Linked DNA regions of Homo sapiens: region 1 is linked to region 2. Evidence: promoter capture Hi-C in 16 types of primary human blood cells and fetal thymus (Javierre and others, 2016). All regions are on one chromosome and are shown on one strand. Each heading gives the region's core, a stretch centred on a gene start or on the middle of the fragment in contact. The rest is flanking DNA. Distances are from core to core; before and after follow the strand shown. Region 1 holds the start of BAD (BCL2 associated agonist of cell death). Region 2 holds the start of UQCC3 (ubiquinol-cytochrome c reductase complex assembly factor 3).

Region 1 (3,087 bases), core at 102-2,601, 1.6 Mb before region 2:
GTCCTCGTAATTCTCGAAAGCTGCCCCCGCCCCACCCTCCCCCACCGCGTCCACGCTCCAGCCTCAAGGGGAGGGAGGAGGCGGACGCCAGGTCCTCAGGCCGCTGATGGGAGAGCCGGCTCAGGTCGTGGGGACCCGGGGCTCCGGCTCCCCGGCTCCCGCTGCTCCGCCCCCCTCCCCCTCCGCGCCTGCGCGGGCGCCGTTCGCTACGCAAATTGCGCAGCGGCCCGGCTGGCTCCGCAGTCCAGCGCCGCACCCGGCGTGAAACCGTACGAGAATTGGCGCGAGCTGCGCCGCTGGCGGGCGCCCGGGGTTACGGGAGGCGGCAGGAGGGCGGCCGAGTTGCGGGGGCCGTGCCGCATCCAGGGGGTCCCCGGGTGGGCCGTGCCCCGTGCCGCCCGCCTTTACTTGTATGGGGGTCCGCCAGTTCCCACGCTCCTCTCTCCTATACCCAAATCGGGGTCGTGCCGCCCGGCCGGGGGCGGCAACGGATTCCCGTCCCTCGGTCTCTGAAGAAAACTTCCGCCCATAGCCAAGATGGCCCCCGGGCCCCGCCCCCGGGCCTGAACCCGCGGAGCCCCGAATCCCCCGCGCGGGCCCGCCCCTCGCCCCGGCGCGCCCGCGGCCCTGCTCACCTGGCCGGCCGCCTGCCAGGCGTGAAGCCCCCACGGGCCCTACGGTCCTCCCTCACCGGGTCCCCGGCCCTCCTCCCGCGCCCGGGCAGCCATCCCAGCCAGGGAGGAGGTTCCTTTCCTTATCTCCAGTGCCCCCGAGATGGCGCGGGAGGTGTCCCCCGAGGCGGGCGGCGCGAAGCTTCCGCGCCTGGGAGGAGGAGCGGGGAGCGGGACTTTCCGACCGGGCACCCAGTCCAGGCGGAGCGGTAACAATAGCAACAATAATCACATCCGACGGCTGAGCTTCAGTTGTGGCTGTGCCAAGCGCCTTCGCCCGCAGTAATCACTCCCTTCACAAAGTTTTCACTGGCTCCCGGGGGAGCTGTCACTATCCCCACTTCACTGGGGGGAAACTAAGGCCCAGAGGGGCTGAAGGACTTGTTGGCAGAAGTGGGTCTCCAGGTTCCAAATGGGGACCCCAGAGAATCCCTCTCCTGCTCCCACACACGCCCAAGGTGTGAGGCAGCGAGGATGTGAGCCCCGGGGCCGAAGGAGGGAGGAAAAAGGATGCGGACGAGGAGCCTTGGATCCGGCGGGGGGGCGGGGCCGGGCCGGGTTGACCCCGCCTCTGGACCTACCCGAGTGACGTTCCGAGAGGTGATTGGGCCAGGTCGCTGACAGTTCCCGTTGCCCAAGCAACTAGGGCCCGGAGCCCGGGGTGCTGGAGGGAGGCGGCAGGCCCGGGTCAGGGGCCTCGAGATCGGGCTTGGGGTGAGACCTGTGCGCCGTCACCACGGGCGGGGCGGGGCCTGGGTCCACCGGGGTTCTGAGGGGAGACTGAGGTCCTGAGCCGACAGCCTCAGCTCCCTGCCAGGCCAGACCCGGCAGACAGATGAGGGCCCAGGAGGCCTGGCGGGCCTGGGGGCGCTACGGTGGGAGAGGAAGCCAGGGGTACCTGCCTCTGCCTTCCAGGGCCACCGTTGGCCCCAGCTGTGCCTTGACTACGTAACATCTTGTCCTCACAGCCCAGAGCATGTTCCAGATCCCAGAGTTTGAGCCGAGTGAGCAGGAAGACTCCAGCTCTGCAGAGAGGGGCCTGGGCCCCAGCCCCGCAGGGGACGGGCCCTCAGGCTCCGGCAAGCATCATCGCCAGGCCCCAGGCCTCCTGTGGGACGCCAGTCACCAGCAGGAGCAGCCAACCAGCAGCAGCCATCATGGAGGTAAGTACCCCACCACCTCCACCTGCCGGGACACCTCACCCCCAGCCCACTGGCTCCCTGCATCCCAGTTGCATCCACAGGCACTGAATGCTTTGGGTCGGTCCCCAAACTCTCAGAGCCCCAGTTTCCTCTTTCGTAAAACAGCAATTAATAACCACCATTGTAGGACTGTTGAGTTAATTAGCAGGAACATATAGGATGCACTTGATTACAGAGCTGGTGCACATTAAAGCTAAAAAATGGTTGCTGCCGGGCGTGGTGGCTCACACCTGTAATCTCAGCACTTTGGGAGGCCAAGGCAGGAGGATCGCTTGAGCCCAGAAGTTCAAGGCCAGCCTGAGTGACTTAGGGAGACTCCAGCTCTTAAAATACATATATATATATATAGCAGCTATTAGTGTGGGGTTAGGACAGAAATCAGTGACAGGCAGGCAGTGATCCGAAAAGGAAAAGGGGCCTGCCTAAGGCCACACCTTCCTGGTGTTTCTTTCCTTAGAATGTGGGGGCTGGAAGCCTCCTTGGTGCCCTGCCCCAGGCTACATGCTTTCCCTGGGATTAGGCCTTCCAGCTCCCAGATGTGTTCTTTCTTGCCCTGTGGCTCGTACCCACAGCAGGACTGTCCTGGCACAGTGGCCAGGGGCAGATGACCTCAAGGGGCAGACAGTCCTCCCAGACAGCAGGGCTGTGTGGGGTGAGAAGCACAGGCTCCAAGATGGAAGGATGGACACTGGGGTTCTATGTCCATTTCTCAGTAGGCTCTAGCACCCCTGTGCCCAGCACTGGCCTTGGCACCTGGAACAACAACAGATATCTTCTGAACACAAAAACCAGGTCAAGCTGGGTGGGGTGGCACATGTCTGTAGTCCCAGCAACTCAGGAGGCTGGCTTGAGCCCAGGAATTCAAGACCAGCCTGGGCAACATAGCCAGACCCCATCTCTAAAAATAGAAAACTAGGTCATGTCACTCTGGCACTGCAGCTTAAAAGACCTCCTCCCCATTTTCAGGATTAAGAAGGCTTAAGAGGCCTCTTTCCCCTCGCTCTCTTACGGATAAACACCCACACTCGATTCTCTCAGATTGGACCCCATAGCTTGCTTTCTTTTTTTCTGTTTGTTTTGTTTTGTTTTGAGACAGGGTCTCGCTCTATCACCCAGGAGGGAGTACAGAGGTGCGATCTCAGCTCACTGCAGCCCGGAACTTCTGGGCTTAAGTGATCCTCCCACGTAACTGGGAATACAGGTGTGTGGACCAC
Region 2 (3,427 bases), core at 900-3,399:
GTGGCGCACCCCTGTAGTCCCAGCTACTGGAGAGGCTGAGGCAGGAGAATCGCTTGAACCCAGGAGGCGGAGGTTGCATTGAGTTGAGATCGCTCCATTGCACTCCAGCGTGGGCAACAACACAGAAATTCTGTCTCAAAAAAAAAAAAAAAGCTTTATTTGGTGTTCTGACTTTAATAACAGCAGCCTTTTTTTCAATTGCAGTCTTGCTTGGGAACCACAGGATAGACAAAAGAGGAGCAACTTGGTTGACTAGGCTGTGGGGCTTTGACCCCACTTATTTAATCCCCTCAGTGGCAGCTCCAATAAATCCTGACCAGATCCAGAGATTGGGGACCACTTTACATTTCTAAATTAATGTTTTACAATAATCCTCGTAGTTATGACCTTTCATAGAACAGGGCTGAGGTTTGTAACATGCTGGAGTTCAACCAGGATCTGTGACTCAAAGCACACTCCTTTTACTACTAGTAAGTCAGCCTCCTAAGCTTGTTTAACCAGAGGTTAAATAATGGCCACAGAAAGCATTGTGGCATATGTTAAGTGCTAGATGCCCCTCCAATCTCGCTCCAAGGACAGGAGTCCTGAGTGTCCACTATAGGCATCCATTACTTCAAGACTTCCCAGGATAGTTCAGATTTCAAGAATGTCCCACGGTTATCCCTGGAAGTACACTCCAACCTGACACCACATGACCTGTTTTGAAAATGTGGTTGGCCGGGCGCAGTGGCTCACGCCTCTAATCCCAGCACTTTGGGAGGCTGAGACGGGTGAACTGCCTGAGGTCAGGAGTTCGAGATCAGCCTGGCCACATGGTGAAACCCGCCTCTACTAAAACTACTAATATCAGCCGGGCGTGGTTGCGGACGCCTGTAATCCCAGCTACATGGGAGGCTGAGTAAGGAGAACAGCTTGAACCCAGGAGGCAGAGGTTGCAGTGAGCCAAGATTGCGCCACTGCACTCCTGCCTGGGTGACAAGAGCAAGACTCCATCTCAAAAAAAAGAAAAAATGTGGCCGCGGCAGGGCGAGGTGGTTCACGCCTGTAATCCCAGCCCTTTGGGAGGCCGAGGCGGGCGGATCACCTGGGTCTGGAGTTCGAGACCAGTCTAGCCAACATGGTGAACCCTGTCTCAACTAAAAACACAAAAGTTAGCTGGGCTTGGTGGCGCGCACTTGTGATCCCGGCTACTCGGGAAGCTGAGGCAGGAGAATTGCTGGAACCCAGGGGCGGAGGTTGCAGTGAGCCGAGATCGTGCCACTGCACTCCAGCCTGGGTGACATTGACTCCGTCTCAAAAAAAAAAAAAAAAAAAAAATGTGGTCAGATACCTATCGGGATCAGCCTCTTCTGGTGGGGTGGGACAGGCAGCAGCTCCAGGCCGCGCCCCCAGCACCGACCACGCGTCTCTAAGCATTGGTAGGTGTCGACTGCAGGGCTCATTCTGGGTGGAGGAACATGATTTTATTGGTTCTTTCAGTTCACCACATCCGACTCGCGTCTCGGCCCTGGCCCGCCTTGCGGACCTTAAAGCAGTCAGTCCAGGGTTTGGGGGAAACGTGCTCACCCGACGGCAGCTCACAGGACCCCGGAGAGTCCTGGCATGGTATCTCGGTCCGGACTCTCCGCTGGGCCCACGAAGGAGAAAGGCTGCCTCGGATTCCTGCGCCCAAGCCAAGGTCCGGCGCCCACGGAGGCAAGTCCGGTCTCACGGTGACCTCCCGCCGGCGCCGCCTTCGCCGCCAACCATCCAGTTCTTCCTCCAGGCCACGTTCTCCTGCGTGGTCGCTGCCTCCTGCAGAGTGGCCAGCAATAGCTGCTGGGTCCTGGCCGCCTCCTCCCTGCTCCTTGGGTCCTGCAGTGGCATCTCCTGAGGGCAGGAAGGGGAGTTCGCAGGAGCTCCAGTCCGGGGCTCTCCACCCGCCCACCCTTCCTCGGGACTACCAGTTGCTTCTACCTTTAGCATTTCCTGCTTCCGCCGCTCTCCCGGGGTCACGATAACGAGGAGCGCGTAGCCCACGCCAGCCCCTGCGCCCAGCATTGCGACTGAGATCAGCATTTTCCGCAAGGAATCCATGGCCGCCTGCACAGCCAGCGGAGCGCCCACGGGAGCTCCCCGCAGCCGCAAGCTGTTGCCGCGCGGTCTCACTACCCCTTGGCGCAGGCTAGAGCGCCCTATAGCAGAAACCATAGATAAGCGGCCGGCTAGAGAGGACCTGCTCGAGGAAACGTTTGGAATCCGGAGCGCTTGGATCTCAGGTTTAGCTGAGGGGGTTGAGGTGTCCAAGAAGTGCTGGCACCAAGGGCTGAGCGCGGGGACCCTGTGTCCTCAATTCCGGGGTGGGATTGCTAGGGGGAGAGTGCGTGTCTTCATGGTTGCCGTGGGTTTTATGATTGCCCATTTTTCTGTCTTCCGACGTTTCCCGATCAGTAGAGGCCCGAGCTGTGCTCTGTGGTTTCCTGCAGTCACCCGCGCGTTTTCAACACAGCGCATGGAGGGCATCTACACACATACACATCCCTCTCCATCCCCTCAACTCTGGAACAAACACTCAAAGTCAAGTATACTGGTTGGAGAAATGGGTAATAGTTACTTATCTTTAACATTTATTTTACAAACAACCTATTCCTTTTCTCGTCATGGTACACACTTGGTATTGTTTGGGTTTTTTTTTGGTTTTGTTGTTGTTGTTAGTGTGTGGGCGTGGTTTTGTTTGTTTTTGGAGACAAGGTCTCGCTCTGTCGCCCAGGGCTGGAGTGCAGTGGCGCGATCATGGCTCACTGAAGCCTCGACTTCCAGGGCCCAAGCGATCCTCCTGCCTCAACCTCCCGGATAGCTGGGATTACAGGCGTGCACCACCACGCCCGGCTGGTATTGCTTTTTGTTTTGCTTCGTTTTCTTTTTTGCTTTTTGAGACAGAGTCTCACTCTGTTGCCCAGCTGGAGTGCAGTGGCGTGATCTCGGCTCACTGCAAGCTCTGCCTCCCGGGTTCACGCCATTCTCCTGCCTCAGCCTCCCGAGTAGCTGGGACTACAGGCGCCCGCCACCACGGCCGGCTAATTTTTTGTATTTTTAGTAGAGAAAGAGTTTCACTATGTAGGTCAGGCTGGTCTCGAACTCCTGACCTCGTGATCCGCCCAATCCGCCCACCTCGGCCTCCCAAAGTGCTGGGATTACAGGTGTGAGCCACCGCGCCCGGCTGTTTTGCTTTGTTTTCAACCACTAAAAGGCTGGATTCGTGTAACATACTGAATTCTGCTTTACAGAAGAAAACACCTCTTAGCTGTGTGACTGATTATAGGCAAGTTCTTGTGCCCCGGTTTCTGCATCAGAAAATGAAGCTTATAACAACAGTACTTGTCTCACAGTTTTAGGATAATTAAATTAGTTATATGTAAAGCAATTAAAACAGCTCCTGCCAAAGAGT

What was found. Contacts are between HindIII fragments. The CHiCAGO score rates a contact against its expected background, and 5 or more counts as called.
Region 1: a contact is called between the fragment with the promoter of BAD here and the fragment with the promoter of UQCC3 in region 2, in 1 of 17 cell types (activated CD4 T cells). The highest score is 5.8, in activated CD4 T cells.

Annotation. Positions count from the first base shown.
Region 1 is chr11:64,282,929-64,286,015 of GRCh38, reverse strand. It overlaps BAD (BCL2 associated agonist of cell death), which reads left to right and starts at 1,351. Exons shown (of 4, transcript NM_032989.3): 1 at 1,351-1,385; 2 at 1,640-1,834. The coding sequence starts at 1,648. GPR137 (G protein-coupled receptor 137) reads right to left here and starts at 168. Exons shown (of 7, transcript NM_001170880.2): 1 at 1-168. RefSeq lists silencers at 92-831, 1,182-1,471. The HindIII fragment of the contact is 5,985 bases long and covers 816-3,087 here.
Region 2 is chr11:62,670,395-62,673,821 of GRCh38, reverse strand. It overlaps UQCC3 (ubiquinol-cytochrome c reductase complex assembly factor 3), which reads right to left and starts at 2,149. Exons shown (of 2, transcript NM_001085372.3): 1 at 1,957-2,149; 2 at 136-1,869. The coding sequence starts at 2,076. The coding sequence ends at 1,708. It overlaps LBHD1 (LBH domain containing 1), which reads left to right and starts at 1,555. Exons shown (of 7, transcript NM_024099.5): 1 at 1,555-2,258. RefSeq lists a silencer at 1,346-1,475 and enhancers at 1,716-1,875, 1,242-1,983, 1,984-2,723, 2,724-3,427. The HindIII fragment of the contact is 2,853 bases long and covers 491-3,343 here.